6 separate regions of the Homo sapiens genome follow, and all the other regions are linked to region 2. Evidence: promoter capture Hi-C in 16 types of primary human blood cells and fetal thymus (Javierre and others, 2016). All regions are on one chromosome and are shown on one strand. Each heading gives the region's core, a stretch centred on a gene start or on the middle of the fragment in contact. The rest is flanking DNA. Distances are from core to core; before and after follow the strand shown. Region 1 has its middle 6.4 kb from the start of KRTDAP. Region 2 holds the start of LRFN3 (leucine rich repeat and fibronectin type III domain containing 3). Region 3 holds the start of COX6B1 (cytochrome c oxidase subunit 6B1). Region 4 holds the start of RBM42 (RNA binding motif protein 42). Region 5 overlaps ATP4A (ATPase H+/K+ transporting subunit alpha). Region 6 overlaps HAUS5-DT (HAUS5 divergent transcript).

Region 1 (3,968 bases), core at 1,461-3,960, 450 kb after region 2:
CTCCCCCAGTTTCAACCAGAGAGCAGCCGCAATGATCCAGATTCACTCATTCACTCGCGCATCCATCCATCCACCCAGCCATCCACCCACCCATCCACCCATCCACCCACCCATCCATCCATCCATCCATCCATCCATCCATCCATCCATCCATCCATCCATCCACTGCAAAGATCTTGAAACATGAAATGGATTTAGTTTTGCTTCCTGTAGATGTATTTTCTCTGACCCAATTTGTGTACTTAAAATACTAAACTAGTTGGAATTGTTTCTGGTTTCTCTTGAAAACTGGGAAGATTAGAGAACAGTGGACCTGCGACTGGCTTAAAGCCAAGTAGCAGCTGCCCTCTTTACACAGGACATGGCTTCCAGGGAACTTTCTACTTGGCAAGCTTCACTTGTTTACATTGCCTTTGGCCTTTATAAGCAACTGCGTTTGTAAACCATCAACTGCAGTTTAATCGAGGAAGTGGACTACAAGGGAAATTAAACTTGGTTCCTACTTTCAAGGCGCTTACAGACCAGGTGAATGAGACATGTAAATGTTCCTGGCCGGGCACGGTGGCTCACACCTGTAATCCCAGCACTTTGGGAGGCCAAGGTGGGTGTATCCCTTGAGGTCAGGAGTTTGAGACCAGCCTGGGTAACATGGCAAAACCCCATCTCTACTAAAAACACAAAATTAGGTGGGCGGATCACATGAGGTCAGGAGTTCGAGACCAGCCTAGCCAACATGGTGAAACCCCATCTCTACTAAAAATACAAAACTGAGCCGGGTGTGGTGATGCATGTCTGTAATCCCAGCTACTCAGGAGGCTGAGGCACGAGAATCGCTTGAATCCGGAAGGCGGAGGTTGCAGTGAGCCAAAATTGTACCACTACACTCCAGCCTCGGTGAGAGAGCAAGACTCTGTCAAAAAAAAAAAAAAAGTTGCTTATGCTCTTCCTTCCAATACACACAAAGGAGAGGAAAGCTATAAATGGAATAACCAACAGAGAAGAAAACTATGGACACTGGTGAAATGCCACAATCAGTTGAAATACTTAGTGAAGATTGTGCACTCACAAACTAGGTGATAGGAAATGGAGTACAGGAAGAAGAGGGGAGGTGCTTAAGGGACACCCATCGAGTGACTAGGTTTTAGGGGAGGAGTAAAGCATCCCCAGGGGACTAGGAGTCACGATACACAAGTTAAGAGTATCTCTGAGATAAGGCGGTAGTTCTCAAAGTGTGGTCCCCACGCTGGCAGCACCAGGATCCCCTGGGAACTGAAAAGAAATGCAAATTCTTGGGCCCCACTTCAGATCTACTAAGTGCGAAACCAGGGGTGGGGCCCAGCAATCTGTGTTTTGACAAGCCCTCTAAGCAAGTCTGATTCACTAAAGTCTGAGAACCACTTCAAAAAGGAACGTCAGAGAACTTAAGATTAACCCAGAATCAGGATAGTAGTTGCCCCTTAGATGGAGAGATCCCATGTGATAGGAGAGTGGCACATAGGAGATAAGGGGGGACGGTGTGTGACAGAAGCCACTTCTATATCATGTTTCATTTCTTCTTTAAATATGTACATTTTATGCACACCTATGCATGTTGTATTTCACAATAACATATTATTAAAGCCAGAGAACACCAGATCAATTTGCAAGTGCTGACAGAATACACAGTCAAGAAACAATTGGAGTCTAGAGAGACTGCAATCTGAACCAAAAAGAAAAAGACAAAGTGAAGTGTAGACAAGCTGTGCACATGAGTGACAGATGTATACTAGCTAGATCATGTGAAATTGACAAAATGCACAAACATGGGTCAGGCCATTCAGAGGATTCAAAGAATGGAAGACATAGCACCTGTTCTCCCTGGGGATGACCTGTACATTTCCCATCAGGTAGAGGAGATAACTCAACACTGGAGACTTGAATCTGCATAAGCAAATCTTATTAAATAACCTTTATTTAATAAAAGGCAGGAAGTAGTCACTCTTCATTTTATACTTTATAAAAACAATAACAAATGCATTTTTTTTTTTTGAGACGGAGTTTCACTCTGTTGCTCAGGCTGGAGTGCAGTGGTGCAATCTTGGCTCACCACAACCTCTGCTTCCCAGGTTCAAACGATTCTCCTGCCTCAGCCTCCTGAGAAGATGGAATTACATCTTCTACATGGGTGCCCGCCACCATGTCCGGCTAATTTTTGTATTTTTAGTAGAGATGGGGTTTTGCCACGTCAGCCAGGCTGGTCTTGAACTCCTGACTTCAGGTGATCCGCCTGCACTGGACTCCCAAAGTGCAGGGATTACAGGTGTGAACCACCATGCCTGGCCAACAAATGAATCTTGTGTGGATACTATACCATCTGTTCAACAGGATGTAGAGATATACACTGAGCTATGAAACAATCTCCAAGATAGAGTAAAATGAAAAAAAGAAAGTGGCAGATCATTATGCTGCCATGTGGTTAAAATAAAGATATGGTACAAATATATGCTATTATCTGCATATTATCTGCTATTATCTGGAATAAAACTTGAGAAGTAACAGTGATAACTTTTGAAAAGTTAGATACTTTCACTGTGTACCCTTTTGGATTTTATGAACAAAAATGTTTTACCATGTGCAAATTACATATTCAAAAGAATAAATTAAAATCAAAACTTTCTAGTAAAGCAAACAAACACCAAAAAAACGCTTTGCACTGTAAAGTGGTAGGGCCTAGTCCATGCAGTGACCCAGAGTAGGTGCCTCTTAACTGAATGAATGAAACTGATTTCTCACATTTACCACACCCTTTTGCTACTCAGAGTGTGGTCCCCGAGCCAGCGGCATCAGCATCACTTGGTGCTTGCTTGCTAGAAATGCAGAAGCTCTGCTCACCCAGAGCTAATGCATCAGAATTTTAACAAGACCCCTGCCCCTGGATGATTCACATGTGGAATAACGTTTGAGAAGCACGGCCTTGGGCATGATGTTGAGTGCTATGCAGAAGGCCTTCAAGGAGTTATGATCCAGTTGATACTTACGATAAAGGAAGCATCCAGGGAGAAGGCACTAGATACCTTAGAACGATATGTTTAAATCTGACAGAAGGGAGGAGATAGTTTTGCACCAGGGTAAGAAAACTGGGGAAAGTAACTTTGAATTTGGCATTCATAAATGAACTTAAAAAAAAAAAAAGTCCCTGTCATACTCAGCCAGGACATAAAGGGACTAAAAACCAAAGCCAAACTAAGTGATTACTTTGGGAGGCTTCTGGGAATCAACTCATTTAAAAAACTGGTAAATAAAGGAAATGAATCAAGGATTCATCCTTACTTTCCTCTATGAACTATATACTTCAGGGTAAACAGTTTCTCTCTCTCTCTCTTTTTTTTTTTTTTTTTTTTTTGAGACAGCGTCTTGCTCTTTCACCGAGGCTGGAGTGCAGTGGCATGATCTTGGCTGGAGGCAGCCTTCACCTCCCTGGCTCAAGCAATCCTCCTGCCTCAGCCTCCTGAGTAGTTGGAACTACAGGCACAAGCCACCACACCTGGTATATTTTTAAATTTTTTGTAGGATGGGTGTCTTGCTATGTTGCCCAGGGTGGTCTTCAACTCCTGACCTCAAGTGATCCTCTGGCCTTGGCCTCCCAAAGTGTTGAAATTACAGGCATGCGCCACCATGCCCAGCTGGCACAATTTTTCTTTATACGAGAATTTGAAACTAATAAATGCAAAAGAAATAATAGAATATTTTCGTTTTTCAAAATTTAATAAAATAATGAATGTAGGCTAGCATCTGTAGGGAAGGAAAAAAACATTTTTTTCTACTGTCTTAGGTTCAGTGGCTGTGGCATGCTAATTACATTAACAAAAGAGGCCAGGCACAGTGGCTCATGCCTGTAATCCTAGCACTTTGGGAGGCCGAGGCAGGTGGATCACCTGAGGTCAAGAGTTCGAGACCAGCCAGACCAATATGGTGAAACGCCATCTCTA
Region 2 (3,891 bases), core at 1-2,500:
GGTACCGTAACCCGCAGCCACAATGCTCCTCCCAGCCCGTCCCCACCTTGAGGTTTCAGCAGCCTTACCTGAGCTAGAAGCAGCCCCAGGGAGCAGAGTCCTAGCTCCAGGGGAGTCAGAGGTCAGGGCTCTGGAGGGAGCATCTGGTCATGCTTTTCCTGTCCCCAAGGCTTCTGTAGAGGGACTGTGTCCTGACTCGGCTCAAATCTGTGGCAACGGAGTCTCCAGACCTTAATACTCGGGGTTCCAGACCCCTAAATATTGGGCCTCTAGGGTCCAGTTTTACGGGTCCAGTTTGGGTTGTTCAGGGTCAGGGTCTCCCAGGTCCAGTCTTGGGATGCTAAGCAGCCAAACGGTGGGGTTTAGAGTCTGAGATCCGATCCCGGGGTTCTGCATTCAGATATTGGGGTGCTGAGTCAAGATTGGGAGGTCTCAAGCCCCAGATTTAAGCACTCAGGTCTGCAGCAAGGACTTCAGGCCCAAACTCGGGTTCAGGCCCCTTGGAATCCCACAGTCCAGATCTTGGAATTTGAGGCCTGAATCCCAGGGTTCAGGTCCCCAAGAGTGGGTTCCAGGGTACAGTACTGGAAATCCAGTCCCAGATTTCAAGGTCCCAGGCCCAGAATTCAGAGTTCAGCTCCAGGCTTGAGGTTTTAGATGTCAAATCTTGGGGTTCTGCTCCAAATATTGGGGTCTGTGTTCCAAATTGTGGGGTTCCGGCTCCAAATATTGAGGTCCCAGTGACCGATGTTGAGATTCCAGCCCCATATACTGGGGTTCAGGCTCCAGATCTTGGGGTTCCACGGCCGGATCTCGGGGTGCTGGTCCCAGATCAGGGTTCCAGGCTCGGGTTTCCGGAATTCCCGATTCAATCTGGGGGTGCAGGCCCCCGAGGTGGAGGTTAGGGCGCGGGGTCCGGGGCGGCGGCGTCCCGGCTGGCTTCCTGGGCTGCGGCGGAGGCTGACTGGGAGGGAGGGGACCGGCTGCGGTGGGGAGGGGGGCGACCGGGCAGCCCCAGGGCCGGGTGGGGCGAGGCCTGGGAGCGGAGGGACGGTCAGACAGACTGGGACACGCGGGATGGGGGCACCGCAGCGCAGGCGGGGGCGCAGGGGGGAGGGGCCGCGCTCAGAGACCCCTCCCCCGCCGGGGCCGAGGCGGGGGCCGGGCGGGGGCCGGGCTGGGCGGGCCGGGTCCAGGCGCTCCCGCGGCCTCCTCGCCGGCAACCCAGGGCAGCGCGCGCACCGGCGCTTAAAGGCGCAGGCTCCGCGCGCACCCGCGCTTAAAGGCGTAGGCACCCGCCCCTTCTCTCAAAGACGCGCCCCGGCCCCACCTCCCATGGAGTCGCACTGGCGCTGCTGGGAAAGAGAATCCCTGGATACAGAGAGACTGAGACAGAGAGACAGAGAAGAACGGAGATACAGAAAGGCAGACAAAAAGATGGGCAGGCTTAGATTGATGGATAGAGAGGAGAAAATGGAAAGAGGCAGAGAGACAGATTGAAACACACACATATTCGAGACATGGAAATGCACAGAGACAGCGAGACACAGAGAGTGATGGAGAGACAAGAGATAAGGACAAGTCAGAGAAAGACAGAAACAGAGATAGAGACGTGCGTGCGCGCGCACACACAGACACACACATACACACTCACACGCTCTAAGACGCAGCACCTGGGCTGTGAGAATGGTATGTGTGTATGTGCATTCAGTAACTATTCCTAGCCTTGAGTGTAGCGCTTCATTCCAGAGCCACTGGCCCCCCAAACCTGTCTCTTTCTGCCCCCCTTATCTCAGCACCACCTCCCTGGAATGTCCTTTCCACGGTTGGAGTTTCCTTACCTGGCCATGCCCAGCAATAGGCTTGATCTTTCAGGCCAGAGGGGCTCCTTCCCAAGGCTCCTTTCTCTGCCTGCAAGAGGGAAAACTTGTGCCATCTGGGATTAGGGAAAGACCTCAAGACACACTGACAGCCGGGGGCGGTGGCTCACGCCTGTAATCCCGGCTCGTTGGGAGGCCAAGGCGGGCGGATCTTTTGAGATCAGGCGTTGGAGACCAGCCTGGCCAACATGGAGAAACCCCGTCTCTACTAAAAATACAAAAATTAGCCGGGTGTGGTGGCGGACGCCCGTAATCCCAGCTACTCGGGAGGCTGAGGCAAGAGAATTGCTTGAACCCGGGAGGTGGAGATTGTAGTGATCTGAGATCCAGCCATTGCACTCCAGCCTGGGTGACAGAGTGAGACTCTGTCTTTAAAAGAAAGAAAGAAAGAAAGAAAAGCAGAGAGGGATGCCTTGCCTTGCAGGAGCCAGGCCAGGTGTCCTTGCAGTGCAGCCCACCAGGATCACCCGGGGGCACCATAGATCTCCAGGTCCCAACCTCAGAGTTTCTGGTTCAGTGGGTCTGAGGTGGGACCCAAACATTTGCATTTTTAACGAGTACCCAGGTGATGCTAATGTGACTTTTCAAAGACCATACTTTTTTTTTTGAGACAGGGTCTTGCTTTGTCACCCAGTACATTGGTGCAATCATAATTGACTGCAACCTCAAATTCCTGGGCTCAAGCAATCCTCCCACCTCAGGCTCCAGAGTAACTGAGACTACAGGCATGCATCGCCATATCCAGCTAATTTTTAAAATTTCTTGTAGAGACAGGGTCTCAATATGCTGCCCAGGCTGGTCTTGAACTCTTGGCCTCAGGCAATCCTCCCTCCCAGGCCTCCCAAAGTGTTGTGATTACAGGTGTGAGCCACTACACCTGGTCAGGGACCACATTTTGAGAACAGCTGGGCTGAACCAGGGCTATCTGCACTGCACACGGAACTGTCTACCACAACAGCTATGCTAAAACCTGGTGGGTTGAGGGCATGTAGCACCGCAGATGTGTACCAAAGAGACAAATGTATTTAGAGACATAAAGAGGAATTCAGTCTATAAGGGACTTAAACAATGCAACAAGCAAAAAACAAATAACCCCATTTTATTATTATTTTATTTATTTATTTATTTTTGAGACAGAGTCTAGCTCTGTTGCCCAGGCTGGAGTGCAGTGGTGTGATCTTGGCTCACCGCAAGCTCCACCTCCCGGGTTCACGCCATTCTCCTGCCTCAGCCTCCCGAGTAGCTGGGACTAGAGGCGTCTGCCACCATGCCCAGCTAATTTTTTTGGTATTTTTATTAGAGACAGGGTTTCACCATGTTAGCCAGGATGGTCTTGATCTCCTGACCTCGTGATCTGCCCGCCTCGGCCTCCTAAAGTGCTGGGATTACAGGCGTGAGCCACAGTGTCCGGCCTATTTATTTATTTATTTTTTTAGACAGAGTCTTACTTTGTTGCCCAGGTTGTAGTGCAGTGGCATAATCTTGGCTCACTGCAACCTCTGCCTCCTTGGTTCAAGTGATTCTCCTGCCTCAGCCTCCCAAGTAGCTGGGATAACAGGCACCTACCACCATGCCTAGCTAATTTTTGTATTTTTAGTAGAGATGGGGTTTCGCCATGTTGGCAAGGCTGGTCTTGAACTCCTGACCTCAGGTGATACCCCCCACCTCGGCCTCCCAAAGTGCTGGGATTACAGGTGTGAGCCACTGCGCCCAGCCCCCATCTCTTTTTTTTTAAGACAGAGTCCTGCTCTGTCGCCCAGGCTGGAGTGCAGTGGCATGATCTCGGCTCACTGCAATCTCCACCTCCTGGGTTCAAGCTATTCTCCTGCCTCAGCCTCCCGAGTAGCTGGGATTACAGGCATGCACCACCACGCTTGGCTGATTTTTATTTTGAGACGGAGTCTCACTCTGTCACCCAGGCTGGAGTGCAGTGGCGTGATCTTTGCTCACTACAACCTCCGCCGCCCGGATTCAAGCGATTCTTCTGCCTCAGCCTCCCGAGTAGCTGGGA
Region 3 (3,731 bases), core at 518-3,017, 290 kb after region 2:
GGAGGTTGTAGTGAGCCGAGATTGTGCCAGTGCACTCCAACCTGGGCAACAGAGCAAAAACACTGTCTCAAAAAAAAAAAAAAATACAATTTTGAAGTAATCATGAATGAATATAGTATTTTGTGACATTTGCTGTTATAATGTGGTATAAGAATACCTGTGATTTTGGGTGGAGCACAATGGTTCACACCTGTAATCCCAGCACTTTGGAATGCTGAGGTGGGAGGATCGCTTGAGCCCAGGAGTTCAAGACCAGCCTGGGCAACATGGTGAAACCCCATCTCATCTCTACAAAAAAAATATTAAAATTGGCCGGAAGAGGTGGCTCACGCCTGTAATCCCAGCACTTTGGGAAGCCGAGGTGGGTGGATCACCTGAGGTCAGGAGTTCAAGACCAGCTTGGCCAATATGGTGAAACCCCATCTCTACTAAAAATACAAAAAATTAGCTGGGCATGGTGGCGTGCACCTGTAATCCCAGCTACCAGGGAGGCTGGGGCAGGAGAATCACTTGAACCCAAGAGGCGGAGGTTGCAGTGAGCCGAGATTGTGCCATTGTACTCCAGCCTGGGCGATACAGCAAGATCTTGTCTCAAAAAAAAAAAAAAAAATTAAAATTAGCCAGGTGTGGTGGCGCGTGCCTGTGGTCCCAGCTACTGAGGCAGGATCGCTTGCACAGGGAAGCAGAGGTTGCAGTGAGCCAAGATTTCTCCACTGCACGCCAGCCTGGGTGACACAGTGACCCTGTCTCAAAAAAGGAGAAAAACAAAAAAAAGGAATGTCTATGATTTTCATTGCTAACAAAATCACCGCTGCTGCTAGTACTACCGAGGTTGCTGCCTCAAAAGGTTAGTAAAAACACAGATGCAATTCCACCCCCCACCCCAATTCAAGTACTAGCATTCCTTGAATTCTACCAACTCTGCGGACCCAGGGTTAAACACCTTTAATATAATGTCTCTGAAGAAGTGACAGTGTTCGTCGGGAGCCTGAGAGAAAAGTATCTATATTCCAGGGAATCCTAGGAGTCGTGGGGCTATACAGAGACTTGCAGAGCAGTGTCAAATTCAAGCGACGCAAGGTGGTGGTGGGGGTCTGGAGCACTAAAACAGTCTTTCGGTGGGGAAGTGGGGTGTAAAACACCAGCTGCTGGGGCACAGACGCAGTAGGAAGGATCGTTACCGGCGAGATCTCTACCCGGTATCTGAGGATGAGGGTGCATCGGAGATGACGCTGCGGCCCCTCCAACGTCCAAAAGGGAGGATGGACTGGACACCCGGGAGCCAGGCTGCGGCCCAGGCAAGCCGCGAGAGGCCACGCCTGTGAATTAGCCATGAAGAGCCCTGGAGGACAAACTCCTGGGCCAAATCCTGGTCGCTGTGTAGGTTCAGCTAGGTCGCTTGGTATCTCTGAGCCTGTTTACTGACAAAAGGGGATAATCGCAGGCCCTATCTCATAGGGCTGGTGGGAGAGTTAAATAAATTAATTAAAGTTGTTTGGGATGTTGCCTGGCATCAAGGAAGAACCGTATCATTGTTAGCTCTTACGATGAACAGAACAGGGCCCCGGGGTCCAGGGAGGCCGGACGCCGCCAGCCGGAAGCCTCAACCCGTTCTCAGGGAAGCTGGGGTCCGGCTCCTCAGCCCGCTAGACTGGGGTCCCAGGTTACAGAACCCTCCACACTCACCTAAAGGCACCCCGGATTCAACCTGCAGCTCAATGTGACCCTCAGCAAAGACACCACAGTCGGACAGGAAGCGGAACTACTACCAGCCGGAAGCTGAGAGAGGTGGGGACTACGGGAGTCTTGCGAGCGGCTTCAGCTCCCTCCCAGGAGGAGGCCACTGAAGTCATTCAAGCCACGCCCAGCAAGAGAACTACGACTTTCTATTGGGCTAAATGCTTGTTCATCCTCACTTCTGGCCCAATCGTGAGCTTGCGCGGCTGGGGCTCGGGCGCCCGTGGGTTACCCGATCTCATCACCTCTGTGTCTTCACTCGGAGAGAGTGTTATAGATCCCGGGGCTGGCTGGAGGGTAGGTGTGGAGAAAAATGTCCCAGCGAAAGTACTTTTATTCATGCAAGAAATATTTATTGAACGCTTTTTCTGTGTCAGGTATTTCTTTTCTTTAAATTTTTTTTTTCTTTTTTTTAAATTTTTGAGACAGGGTCTTACTCTATGGCCCAGGCTGGAGTGCAGTAGCGCGATCTCAGCTCACTGCAACCTCCGCCTCCTGGGTTCAAGCGATTCTCCCGCCTCATCCTCCCGAGTAGCTGGGATTACAGATGCGCACCGCTACTCCTGGATATATATATGCATTTTATAGAGATGGGGTCTTGCTGTGTTACCCAGGCTGGACTCGAACTCCTGGTCTCTAAGCGATCCTCCCGCCTCGGCCTTCCAAAGCGTTAGGATTACCGGCGTGACCCACCGTATCCAGCCATCAGGCACTTTACGGGTTGAGAAAGCACGCTGCACAAAACACAAAAATCCCTACCCTTAAAATATATATATAGAGAGAGAGACGGAGTCTCACTCTGTCGCCCAGGCTGGAGTGCAGTGGCACGAACTTGGCTCACTGCAACCTGCGTCTACTCGGTTCAAGCGATTCTCCTGCCTCAGCCTCCCGAGTAGGTGCGATTACAAGCGCACGCCACCACTCCCGGCTAATTTTGGTATTTTTGGTAGAGATGGGATTTCACCATGTTGGTCAGGTTGGTCTTGAACTCCTGACCTCAGGTGATCTGCCCACCTCGGCCTCCCAAAATGCTGGGATTACAGGCGTGAGCTGCCCTACCTGGCCAATTTGGCTTTTTTTTTTTTTTTTTTTTTTTTTTTTTCAGACAGAGTTTTGCTCTTGTTGCCCAGGCTGGAGTGCAGTGGTGTGATCTTGGCTCACTGCAACCTCCACCTCCCGAGCTAGAGCGATTCTTCTGCCTCAGCCTCCCCAGTAGCTGGGATTACAGGCATGCGCCACCACACCTGGCTAATTTTGTATTTTTAGTAGAGATGCGGTTTGTCCATGTTGGTCAGGCTGGTCTTGAACTTTTGACCTCAGGTGATCTGCCCGCCTTGGCCTTCCAAAGTGCTGGGATTACAGGCGTGAGCCACCGTGCCCGGCTATATCTGTTCTTTTACATTATGTTTACCTCTTTTTGCCTCCCTCAACAGAAAAGAATTATCATAAAGGAAGAATTTTTGTCTGCCTTATTCATTCACCATTGTATCTAAAGCAGTGCCTGGCACACAGGAAGTGGTCTATAAATATTTGCTGAATGCAAGAATTTCTTGTGGAAATGAAGGAAGCATCTAGGGACTAGGAGAGGGAGCTATGAAAGAGAACTGCTTTCCTTCCTCCCCCATCTGGCCTCTAAAGCCTCTCACATACCATCTGGGGTGCAGTGTCCAGATGGAATTGGGTCAGGGACCTCTTCTTACACATTCTGTGTCCATCAACATTGTGATTATTTGTGGAATTACCTGTTTACATGCATGTATTCATCCCCTGCAATGAGATCTTCCTAAAATCCAAATCCCTTTCCCTGCTTAAAACCCCTTGATGGGGGCCAGGCACGGTGGCTCACTCCTATAATCCCAGCACTTTGGGTGGCCAAGGCAGGCGGATCACCTGAGGTCAGGAGTTCAAGACCAGCCTGACCAACACGGTGCAACCCCATCTTTACTAAAAATACAAAAATTAGCTGTGCGTGGTGGTGTGCACCTGTAATCCCA
Region 4 (3,655 bases), core at 1,085-3,584, 310 kb after region 2:
GGCTGTCCAGGTGACTCCGATCACCAGGGCCAAAGCCAACTGTTGGGAGGGGAGAGGCAAGGATGGTGGGAGGAGAGTCCTGTGCACACCTTTTTACCACCCTGCCTGATTGCCCAACCCCCTCACCTTGCTACTCTTTACTTACCAGGGCCTACAAAAGGAGGGCCACCCACCATGGGAGGAACTACTGTGGCTGCAGCAGCTGCTCGGGCCTCCAGAGTCTGCTGGACCTGTCGAGGAAGAGGTCAGGGTGAGGGGCCTGACTCAGCATTCCCATCTGCTGCGGCCAGCTCACCCCAAGAGACCAAGAGCTTCATGCTTTGTGCTCTGTATGTGGCTGGCTATCTCAGGTCTTAGCTAAAATGCCACTTCTCGGGGAGGCTTTTTGGATCACACTAGGGCTCTCTGAGCAGCAACTTCTCTCACCACCTTATTTCATCTTCCCCACAGCACTTAGCACCCACTGAAACTGTGTCCAACCTGTCCTCCCCATCTCCCATGCACAACCTCCATCCAAGCCACCATTAACTCCTGTCTAGATTACTGTACTAGCCCCTTCCTCCATCTCCTGGCTTCTGCCCTTGTCCCTTACAGTCTTTTTTTTGAGACGGAGTCTCGCTCTATTGTCCAGGCTGGAGTGCAGTGGCACGAGCTTGGCTCACTGCAACCTCCGCCTCCTGGGTTCAAGTGATATTCCTGCCTCAGCCTCCGGAGTAGCTGGGATTATAGGCGCCCGCCGACACGCCCGCCTAATTTTTGTATTTTTAATAGAGACGGGGTTGCACCATGTTGGCCAGGTTGGTCTTGAACTCCTGACCTTGTGATCTACCCGCCTTGGCTTCCCAAAGTGCTGGGATTACAGGCGTGAGCAACCGTGCCTGGCCACCAGGGTTCTTAAAATGGCCATAAGGCTCTACAAGATTTGGCCTCACCTCTCTGTCCTTATCTCCTCCCACTTTCCTCTTTGCTCACTCCACTGTCACTGGTCTCCTTGCTGTTCCTTGAACACAACAACACAACAGGTATGCACCTGCCTCAGGGCTTTTTTTTTTTTTTTGAGACGGAGTCTCGCTCTGTCACCAGGCTCCAGTGCAGTGGCGCAATCTCAGCTCACTGCAACCTCCGCTTCCTGGGTTCAAGCGATTCTCCTGCCTCAGCCTCCCAAGTAGCTGGGACTACAGGCACGTGCCACCACACCCAGCTAATTTTTGTAATTTTAGTAGAGATGGGGTTTCACCATGTTGGCCAGGATGGACTCGATCTCTTGACCTCGTGATCTGCCCGCCTTGGTCTCCCAAAGTGCTGGGATTACAGGTGTGAGCCACCACGCCCAGCGCCCAGCCTATTTTCATCTTAATAATTTCTCTCTCTTTCTCTACTAGTCATATATAGTTGGCTACTGAGCACTTGAAATGTGACTAATGAGAATAACGAACTATTAAATATAAATTTTAAATATATCAGAACAGTCTCGTCATTGCAGAAAGCTCTACTGGACAACATGTTCTAGAATATAAGCTCCCACAGGGCAGAAATGTCTCTCTCAGTCATTACTGTGTTCTCAGTGCCTGGCATATAAAATATTTGTCATGCTAATTAGTCAACAAGCCAAAACGTCAACAGCTCTCTGTACACAAACACCTACTCTGTTCGAGGCATTGTGTTCCCTGACTTACATGCCTTAGCTCAGCCGTACCTGCTGGTATGTGTTGGTCGCGATAATTGGGCGGATCACAGGAGCCGCTGGGACCTGCATCGCTTCTACTGTGGGGACCGTGGGGACAGTGGGCACCGCAGGCACAGCAGTTGGGATTCCAGGTACTGGAGCCCCCAGAACTTCCTGCTCAAACCTGGAGGAGTAGAACAGACATCAGCGCTCAGGACCTCGTACCAATTTTGGAACTGTGGGTATATCGCGAGGGGACCCTCACCCCTGCCAACCTCTCCCCTATCCCCGCCCCCACAATCCCGAAGGTCCCACTTCCCCATGTTAGAGCCGTATCTCCGGCCTATCGAGGCCTGGAGGCTCCGAGATTCGGTGGCTCTGGCTCTGGGACGACTTTTATCACTCTCTGTCGCGGGCCTTACAGGGCCATCTCCGCCTCCATTTCCTTCAAGCGTTCCTCGCCGCTTTTGCCCGGGATGCCAGCGCCAGGACCCGGGACCACGGGTCCTCCTGCACCCGGGAGTCCCGGGGCTGGCCCCGCCCCAGCCATCGCTGCCGTCGTCGCTGTCGCCGCTACTACAGTCTCTGCTTAGCCGCCGCCGCTGGTTCTGCTGTCTACTCTCCCCCTTCGTCCGGGTGGGCTCCCGAGGATGACGTCCAGCAAAAGCGACGGGCGCTGGCGCATGACGTCATACATTCGGGCGCGAGAGCCAATGAGATTTGGCCACACCCTCAGGGGGAATATAGGCCAATCAGAGTGAGAGAAGGACACACGAACGCAAGAACCTGGGCCTATGAGAGCACAGCGGAGAGGCGGCCCCGCTTTCCTGGAGGACCACCGGCTAATGAGAGCGAAGCAAAGTCAGTTGGGCCCATCCCCAATGTGGAATCTGGACCTTTGAGATCGCAGGAAAGTTTGGAGGACCCTCCTGTGCCACCGCAGAGCCCGCGCCGGAAGTTTAAAAAGACGCTAAAGTCCGTGTCAACCCCAGGGTTGGGCAAGGCTGGGAGGCCTGGCTGGCCCCTCGGGGCCCCTATCCTGGAGTAGGTTGACACCCGACCTGTGGTTTCCAGGAAGACCGGAGACGCCCGGGAGGAAGCGCCTGACCCGGCTTCCTGGAGGAGGACAGCTGAAGACATTTAAAGATGAGAGCTGTTCAGGGTGGGAGCCAAGGCCCAGAGACTAGTGCAACTCAGAGGAGCACGTCCGTGGGCTTGGTCCCTGTCCTTTCTTGGGCCACAGCTGACCCTTTTTTTTTTCCCGTAGCCCTCACAAGTGTTTTATTCTGAGTATTTTCAAACATGCACATTAAGGGGAATAGTATAACGCACTCTTAAGTACATCTCAAACGCTACCAATATTCAACACTTCTGGATTTCACTTGATCTATACTTCTTTGTCACGCGCGTCCGTGTGAAGAGACCACCAAGCAGGCTTTGTGTGAGCAACAAGGCTGTTTATTTCACCTGGGTGCAGGCGGGCTGAGTCCGAAAAAGGAGTCAGCAAAGGGTGGTGGGATTATCATTAGTTCTTACAGGTTTGGGATAGGCTTATAAAGTACATTCTCAAGGGCGGGGAGAATGTTACAAAGTACCTTCTTCTTTTTTTTTTTTTTTTTTTTGAGACGGAGTCTCGCTCTGTCGCCCAGGCTGGATTGCAGTAGTGTGACCTCGGCTCACTGCAACCTCCACCTCCTGGACTCAAGGGATTCTCCTGCCTCAGCTTCCCTAGTAGCTGGGATTACAGGTGTGTACTACCACACCCGGCTAATTTTTGTATTTTTAGTAGAGGCGGGGTTTCACCATGTTGGCCAGGCTGGTAGCAAACTTCTGATCTCAAGTGATCCACTCGCCTCGGCCTCCCAGAGTGCTGGGATTACAGGCATGAGCCACTGCGCATGGCCTTATACTTTTCTTATTTTTATATTTTTTTGCTGGAGTATGTTAAAGCAAATTCCAGACATCAACTCAGTCATAAATGCGCCATTA
Region 5 (3,937 bases), core at 162-2,661, 380 kb after region 2:
CCCACCACTCCCGGCCCAGCCCTGACCGTCCTCATCCCTGGCTGCTGGCTGATTTGTCGCAGTCCACAGCCTCACCCTTGACTTTCCCTGTACCAGTCCTGACCCCTGTCTGTCCTCACTTTCTACCTTGACCCCAGTCCTCACCTGGACTTTTATCCGTATCCTGACCTCTAACCTCTCCCAATTTTTGTCCTGACGCCTTAAACTTCGCTGCCTCTACCCTAGAAAGCAGATCTGTGGTCCAATTCTGGGCCTTTTACTTGCTGTGTGACCTCTGGCAAGAAATGTCCCCTCTCTGAGCCTCAGTTTCCTCATCTGTAAGATGAGAATGGGCCTCACAGGGTGGTTGTGAGGGTAGATTCAGATAATGTGAGTGAAGGGGTCAGCACAAGGTCAGGCATCCATAGGTGTTTGGTGCAAGGGGCCTGGTTATTTTACCCATTTCCTGGCCCTGCTAAGAAAGGGTGTGCCCAGGGCTCTTCCCTGACTTCCCCGTTTCCGGTCAGGCTTCTGCCAGCTCTACCTGAATGAGAAGGACTACCCGCCTGGCTATGCCTTCGACGTAGAGGCCATGAACTTTCCATCTAGCGGCCTCTGCTTTGCGGGACTTGTATCCATGATTGACCCACCCCGGGCCACCGTCCCTGATGCTGTGCTCAAGTGTCGCACCGCAGGCATCCGGGTATGCCACTGTGGGGAGGAACAAGTGGAGTGAGGACAGAGGATGGCAGCAGGATTTGGGTTGAAGAACCCCATGACAAACCCACCTGAAACTGGCTTGAACCAAAATGCATTGGTTTATGATACTGAAAAATTCTGGGGAATTAAGCTTCAGGTCTAGCCAGATCCAGGAGCTCAGTGTCATTAGGAATTTTCCTTTCTCCATGTCTCAGCTCTGCTGTTCTCTTTGCTGGCTTTATTTGCAGGCACTCCCTTCACTTGGGGACACACACACCCCTGCTCCAGCAGCTCAAACTTAACTCCCACCTGCTTAGCCACCCCACAAAAAGAGAGTGCCTCTTTTGCAGTAGCACTGGATTGGGTCACTCATTTATCCCTGAGCCAGTCACTGGGGCTGGGGGATGGAAGACCTTGATTGGCCAGGTCTGGGCTTACTTACCCAATCTTAGCCAGGGACCTCACTGCAACTGATGGTGTAGGGGAGAGGAGTGGTTCCCCAAACACAAAACAAGGGTGGGAAAGCCAAGGCCAGGCAGGCAATGCCCAAGCCCTTCCCGTGTCTCTACGGCCCTGTTACATCGGGCCTTGTTACCTTTCTAAGCTTGTTCGTTAGCCCTCTTTCCTTGTTCACTCCTCTGCAGTTATGGTGTCCTCCCTGCTGTTCCTCCGACAGTTCGGGCCTGTCCTCACCTCAGGGCCTTTGCACCTGCTGTTCTCCCTGCCAGGAGCACTCTTCTCCCAGCTTTCCACGTGGCTGACTCTCTCACCTCTTACAGGTCTCTGCTCAGATATCACCTTCTCAATAAGCCCTTCCCTGGGTACACTTAAAATCGAGTCACCGTTTCCTTCACCAAGCTTAATATGTTTTTTTCCACTTTCTAACACACTATATAATTCGTTTCTTTATTTTCTGTCACCCTCACTAGAGCTCCTCAAGGACAGGGATTTTTGTCTCTTTTGTCTCTGCTATATCCCAGGCACGTAGGAGGTGGTCACGCTTGGTCAAGTAAATGAACACGTGTATCAGCAGATGTCTCCCAGGGAGGACAGGGAGATTGGGCTGATCTGAAGGGGTCAGTGATCCACTGGTTCCCCCTACAGGTGATCATGGTAACGGGTGACCACCCCATCACCGCCAAGGCCATTGCAGCCAGTGTGGGCATCATCTCGGAAGGCAGCGAGACAGTGGAGGACATCGCTGCCCGCCTCCGTGTGCCCGTAGACCAGGTTAATCGCAAGTAAGCCCCCCCAGACCTCCCCGGGGTTCTCCCCACATCTGGCACAGACCGAGGTCCCAGCGAGGTCCTCCCATCTCCTCCCCAGGGATGCCCGTGCCTGTGTGATCAATGGCATGCAGCTGAAGGACATGGACCCATCGGAACTGGTCGAGGCCCTGCGCACCCACCCCGAGATGGTGTTTGCGCGCACCAGCCCCCAGCAGAAGCTGGTGATCGTGGAGAGCTGCCAGCGGCTGGTGAGCCCTGCTGATGAGGGTGGGCAGGCGGGCAGACAGGCGGGGCTGGTCTTGGACCGGCCTCTCACTGACCACCCACCCACCACCTGCACCCACTGCCTGCAGGGTGCGATTGTGGCCGTCACGGGGGATGGTGTGAATGACTCCCCAGCTCTGAAGAAGGCAGACATCGGAGTAGCCATGGGCATCGCTGGCTCAGATGCTGCCAAAAATGCAGCTGACATGATCCTGCTGGATGACAACTTTGCCTCCATTGTGACAGGCGTGGAGCAGGGTCCGAGCCACGCCAGGGGGAGGGCAGGCAGTGTGGGCACAGGAGGGAGAGGGCTGTGAGGAGGCTGAGGTGCCCACCCTACCCCACAGGTCGACTGATCTTCGACAACCTGAAGAAGTCTATTGCCTACACATTGACCAAGAACATCCCAGAGCTGACACCCTACCTCATCTACATCACCGTCAGCGTGCCCCTGCCCCTCGGGTGCATCACCATCCTCTTCATCGAACTCTGCACTGACATTGTAAGTCCACAGCCCAGGGTACCCATCCACAGGGTGCCCAGAGACACTTGCTTGCAGATGGACAGGAGGGACAGAGACCACCACAGACACTCTTGGGCACAGAGTGACAGACAAGACCTGTGTGTGCAATGACAGCCAGTGCAGGACACATGGGTGGCAGGCAGGTGAACAGACCTAAATGGACATACAGCCATGCACACACAGGCGGACACTCAGGTAGGCCCGGGCCGACCCATGCACACACATGACTCAGATACAGATACTCAGACAGAGATGGAAACAGAACAGGTATCTGGCCAAACTTGAATCACAGACACGTGCCCCTAAACAGACACGGACAAATAAACCCCCTCAGATAGACCCCATGGCAGACAGACAGAAAAGAACCACAGATACAGTCACGAATGCAGCCAGAGGCGCAGCTGTGTTGACAGGTATTTATTCGGTAACATTTACACAGTGCTTTCTCTGGGCCAGACACACCATCATTTCCTTAATTTTGTACTCATAACCACACTATGAGATGAGTTTTGTTACTATCACCCGTACTTTACTGATGAGCTCATCAAGGCATAGACAGGTAGAGTGGATTGTCCCAGGTCACTGGGCAAATAAGTGGCCCGGCTGTGACTTGAGCTTGAGCAGTCACAGGTCCCACAGCCTGTGGTCGTGGTCAGTATGCTCTGCTGCCACTCTAGGCACAAGCAGATGAAGGGGCACGGCGACACTGAGAGACTGAAGATACACAGAGATAGGGAGTGACACAGAAATACACAAGAGCAGATACAGTCACAGAGAATTACACTGGAGACAGGGACAGAGAAACAGAGTGAGGAACAGAGAAAGAGAGGGAGGGAGACAGAGGGAGAAGATAAAAGCAGATGTTCTTACGAAGATGGGCACCAGGATGCCAACACCCAGGGGCCAGTGGGGCCCAGGCTGTCCAGGCTGGTGTGGCTGTGCCGTCCCTGCAGGTCCTGCCTGCTAACCTCAGTCCTGTTCCTGCTCACAAGTGGGGGAAGGGGGACCCGAAGTGGAGGGGACAAGGGCCCAGCCAAACCCTCAGTCCCAGTTCCTTCCACTCCTGGCCAGTTCCCATCTGTGTCCCTGGCATATGAAAAGGCCGAGAGTGACATCATGCACCTGCGTCCACGCAACCCAAAGCGTGACAGATTGGTCAACGAGCCCCTGGCTGCCTACTCCTACTTCCAGATTGGTGGGTGCCCGTGGGCCGGGGAGCCTGGAGGTGGGGGGCTCTGCGCTG
Region 6 (3,939 bases), core at 521-3,020, 330 kb after region 2:
GAAGAGTCTTCTCATTTCTTACTCATAGAACATCCCATCAGACATTTCTCCTGATCCACATAGTAATTCAGGGATCCAGGCTTCTTCCATAAGGTGATTCAACCATCTTCTATGGGCTCAGAGTCTTTTGAATCCAGGCAGAAGAGAGAATAAGGAACTCGCACCTGCTTCTTGAAAGTCTTCACCCTAAAGTGACATACATCACTTCTGCTCTCAGTCCATTGAACATAACTTGTCTTATGGCTTCAACTAGCTGCAAGGGCCTCTGGGAAATGTAGTCCTGGTCTAGGCAGTCAATAAACATCCTGCTGGCTCTGCCACAGAAGGCCTTTCTAAGATGTTCTTTGAGCTGAGACGTGAGAGCCAAAGTGTGAGAGCTACTTGAAAACTGTGAAAATGGAGTTCCCAAAGTGGGAACAGCAAGTGGAAAGACCCTGATGCTGGAATGTGCTCAAAGGAACAGTAAGAAATGAGCTTCTGGCTGGGCGTGATGGCTCATGCCTGTAATCCCAGCACTTTGGGAGGCTGAGGCAGGTGGATCACCTGAGGTTAGGAGTTTGAGACTAGCCTGACCAACATGGAGAAACCCCGTCTCTACTAAAAATACAAAAAAATCAGCCGGGTGTGGTGGTGCATGCCTGTAATCTCAGCTACTTGGGAGGCTGGGGCAGGAGAATCGCTTGAACCCAGGGGGCAGAGGTTGTTGTGAGCTGAGATCGTGCCATTGCACTCCAGCCTGGGCAACAAAAGTGAAACTCCGTCTCAAAAAAAAAAAAAAAAAGAACTTTTATTTTGTGAGCTACTGAAATGGTGGGGTTTATTTGTTATAGCAGCTAGCATGACTCTAAATAATATACCTTGTAGACATCATTGCCCACTAGCTCAGTGTATCTCAAACTACTTGTAACTATGGAGAAGGATCATTTGTTTGATGTTTCCAACCTGTCATGGACCAATCCTTTTGGTCTCTACCCTGTTCAACAAGAAAATCCATTGATCCTATACTTGGATGTCATGGATATGTCAAATTGCTGTGTTTCTAAACACTTGCTGGCAATTTCCGTACTTATCTGGTGGCACACCATTGCAGACACCAGCTCGGTTGGGGAGACCCTAACCCACTGGTGCTAGAGGAATTAAACACACACACACAGAAATATAGAGGTGTGAAGTGGGAAATCAGGGGTCTCACAGCCTTCAGAGCTGAGAGCCCCGAACAGAGATTTACCCACATATTTAGTAACAGCAAACCAGTCATTAGCATTGTTTCTATAGATATTAAATTAAAAGTATCCCTTATGGGAAACGAAGGGATGGGCCGAATTAAAGGAATAGGTTGGGCTAGTTAACTGCAGCAGGAACACGTCCTTAAGACACACATCGCTCATGCTATTGTTTGTGGCTTAAGAATGCCTTTAAGTGGTTTTCCACTCTGGGCGGGCCAGGTGTTCCTTGCCCTCATTCCCGTAAACCCACAACCTTCCAGCTTGGGCGTTAGGGCCATTATGAACATGTCACAGTGCTGTGGAGATTTTGTTTGTGGCCAGTCTTGGGGTCAGTTTATGGCCATATTTTGGGGGGCTTGCTCCCAACACCATAATAGTTGCTGGACCAGTCCTGGCACCACTTTAGCTTCTTATTCTGTTTTATTTTTCTCTATAGCATTTACCATTCCCTGTAATTATCTTGTTTATTTTTGGGTATACTTGTTTATAGTTTTCTTTCCCACTAGAATGTAAGCTCCATCAGAGAAGAAGTTGGCCTTACTTCTCTTGCTCCGTTGTGTTCCTCGTTCCCAAGACAATGCCTGGGACACAGTAGGTGCTCAGAAAGTATTTGTTAAATAATGAGTATTTGTTAAATAAAAATCATGGCTGGGAACAGTGGCTCACGCCTATAATCCCAGCACTTTGGGAGGCCAAGGCAGACAGATTGGTTGAGCTCAGGAGTTTGAGACCAGTCTGGGCAGCATGGCAAAACCCTGTCTCTACAAAAAATATAAAAATTTGCTGGGCATGGTGGCATGCACCTGTAGTCCTAGCTACTCAGGAGGCTGAGGCATGAGAATCACTTGAACCTGGGAGCCAGAAGTTGCAGTGAGCTGAGATTGTGCCACTGCATTCCAGTCTGGGTGACATAGTGTGACCCTGTCTCAAAAAAAAATTTAATAAAATGAAATAAAAATAACAAGGAGGGTGGGGGGAAGGAGGCAATCCATATCTGTTACAGAGGCTCTCTACAATCAGAACCTGACCAGAACTCTAACCAGTTTGTTAACAGCCATTGAGATCCCCTCAAGAGCTGTGGTTTTTTGATAGACCATGGTAGCTCAGATTAGATGTCAACTGAAGAATCATGAGGTTTTGATATGGTTTGGCTGTCCCCACCCAAATCTCATCTTGAATTGTAGTTCCCCAAATCCCCATGTGTTGTGGGAGGGACCTAGTGGGAGGTAATCGAATCATGGGGGTGGTTACCCCCATGCTGCTGTTCTTGAGATAGTGAGTTCTCACGAGATCTGATGGTTTTATAAGGGGCTTTTCCCTCTTTGCTTGGCACTTCTCCTTCCTGCTGCCATCTGAGGAAGGACGTTTTTGCTTTCTTTTCCACCATGATTTTAAGTTCCCTGAGGCCTCCCCAACCCTGCGGAACTGTGAGTCAATTAAACCTCTTTCCTTTATAAATTACCCAGTCTTGGGCAGTTCTTTTCAGCAGCGTGAGAACAGACTAATACAGGTTTACAAATTTGGAAAGGAGAGCTTTATTTCTCATAAAGAGTTGCAGCCTGCAGCCGGGCCATCTCACAGGCCGAGAAGTGTAGCCTCCGGTAGAAGCTGAGAGCAGGCACCTCCAGTAAGGGAAGGATAAGGTCAGAGTTAACGCTGAATGGCTTGGCTCAGTATACATATTCAACAGGTTATAGGAGGAGCTATGAATATTCATGAAGGGAAGGTACAGCACATGTGTAGTAACATCCCATATTCACTTTTTTTTTTTTTTTTTTTTTTTTTTGAGATGGAGTCTTACTCTGTCACCCAGGCTGTAGTGTAGTGGTGCGATCTCAGCTCACTGCAACCTCTCTTTCCCAGGGTTCAAGCAATTCTCCTGCCTCAGCCTCATGAGTAGCTGGGATTACAGGCACCCATCACCATGCCTGGCTAATTTTTTTATTTTTAGTAGAGACAGGGTTTCACCATGTTGGCCAGGCTGGTCTCAAACTCCTGACCTCAGGTGATCCGCCCACCTTGGCCTCCCAAAGTGCTGGGATTACAGGCGTGAGCCACCGTGCCAGGCCCCATGTTCACTTTGGAGTGGAGACTTAACACTTAAATGTATTACAATTAGGCCCTATACATCAAAAGGTGATGCAGAGGACACAAAGGCCCTTTGTGTGCAGCCTCTGTAGACTGGCCAGAGCCACACCCCGTGGTTAGGTGGCCTCTGATCAGGAAGGAATGCTGGTCAGTTGTTATGTTGAAACCACAAAAGGGAGGAGCAGCCATGTATTTCAGGCCATTGGTTGAAATTAGCAGTGAATGAGTCTTTCAATAGGGCTGGTTTCTGTTTAACCCTTAGGGAAGAAAGCTTCATGGCAGTCAGCAAGGGAGGAGGTAGAATGAGGTGTGCCCGACCACCCGTTCAGTCACGGCTAGGAACTCAGCTTTTAGTGTTTCTCTGTAGGCCCCTTGGCCAAGACAGTGTTCATTCAGCCAGTTGGCGGACTTAGGATTTTATTTTTGTCACGTGCGTCCGTGTGAAGAGACCATCAAACAGGCTTTGTGTGAGCAGTAAAAGCTTTTTAATCACCTGGGTGCAGGCGGACTGAGTCCGAAAAAGGAGTCAGCAAAGGGAGATAGGAGTGAGGCAGTTTTATAGGATTTGGGTAGGTAGTGGAAAATTACAGTTAAAGGGGGTTGTTCTCTTGCAGGCAGGGGCGGG

What was found. Contacts are between HindIII fragments. The CHiCAGO score rates a contact against its expected background, and 5 or more counts as called.
Region 1: a fragment that was not itself captured here is called in contact with the fragment with the promoter of LRFN3 in region 2 in 1 of 17 cell types (neutrophils); the score reaches 6.5 in neutrophils.
Region 3: the fragment with the promoter of COX6B1 here is called in contact with the fragment with the promoter of LRFN3 in region 2 in 1 of 17 cell types (neutrophils); the score reaches 8.4 in neutrophils.
Region 4: a contact is called between the fragment with the promoter of RBM42 here and the fragment with the promoter of LRFN3 in region 2, in 1 of 17 cell types (neutrophils). The highest score is 7.6, in neutrophils.
Region 5: a contact is called between a fragment that was not itself captured here and the fragment with the promoter of LRFN3 in region 2, in 1 of 17 cell types (M2 macrophages). The highest score is 6.0, in M2 macrophages.
Region 6: a fragment that was not itself captured here is called in contact with the fragment with the promoter of LRFN3 in region 2 in 1 of 17 cell types (neutrophils); the score reaches 5.3 in neutrophils.

What each region holds. Positions count from the first base shown.
Region 1 is chr19:35,482,115-35,486,082 of GRCh38, reverse strand. No RefSeq gene overlaps it. Among named protein-coding and RNA genes, the nearest start is that of KRTDAP, 6.4 kb to the left of the region's middle. RefSeq lists a silencer at 1,265-1,354. The HindIII fragment of the contact is 4,631 bases long and covers 395-3,968 here.
Region 2 is chr19:35,933,733-35,937,623 of GRCh38, reverse strand. LRFN3 (leucine rich repeat and fibronectin type III domain containing 3) reads right to left here and starts at 1,250. Exons shown (of 3, transcript NM_024509.2): 1 at 69-1,250. The HindIII fragment of the contact is 21,793 bases long and covers 1-3,891 here.
Region 3 is chr19:35,646,359-35,650,089 of GRCh38, reverse strand. It overlaps COX6B1 (cytochrome c oxidase subunit 6B1), which reads right to left and starts at 1,767. Exons shown (of 4, transcript NM_001863.5): 1 at 1,687-1,767. RefSeq lists enhancers at 1,506-1,555, 1,716-1,775. The HindIII fragment of the contact is 14,427 bases long and covers 1-3,731 here.
Region 4 is chr19:35,627,715-35,631,369 of GRCh38, reverse strand. RBM42 (RNA binding motif protein 42) reads right to left here and starts at 2,334. Exons shown (of 10, transcript NM_024321.5): 1 at 2,089-2,334; 2 at 1,697-1,850; 3 at 146-230; 4 at 1-39. The coding sequence starts at 2,216. RefSeq lists enhancers at 2,229-2,523, 2,672-2,911, 2,837-3,364. The HindIII fragment of the contact is 21,053 bases long and covers 1-3,655 here.
Region 5 is chr19:35,553,658-35,557,594 of GRCh38, reverse strand. It overlaps ATP4A (ATPase H+/K+ transporting subunit alpha), which reads left to right. Exons shown (of 22, transcript NM_000704.3): 12 at 507-682; 13 at 1,783-1,919; 14 at 2,005-2,155; 15 at 2,261-2,429; 16 at 2,519-2,673; 17 at 3,766-3,889. Among named protein-coding and RNA genes, the nearest start is that of ATP4A, 8.0 kb to the left of the region's middle. The HindIII fragment of the contact is 254 bases long and covers 1,285-1,538 here.
Region 6 is chr19:35,604,772-35,608,710 of GRCh38, reverse strand. It overlaps HAUS5-DT (HAUS5 divergent transcript), which reads left to right. Exons shown (of 2, transcript NR_186318.1): 2 at 1-322. Among named protein-coding and RNA genes, the nearest start is that of HAUS5-DT, 5.9 kb to the left of the region's middle. The HindIII fragment of the contact is 3,634 bases long and covers 1-3,587 here.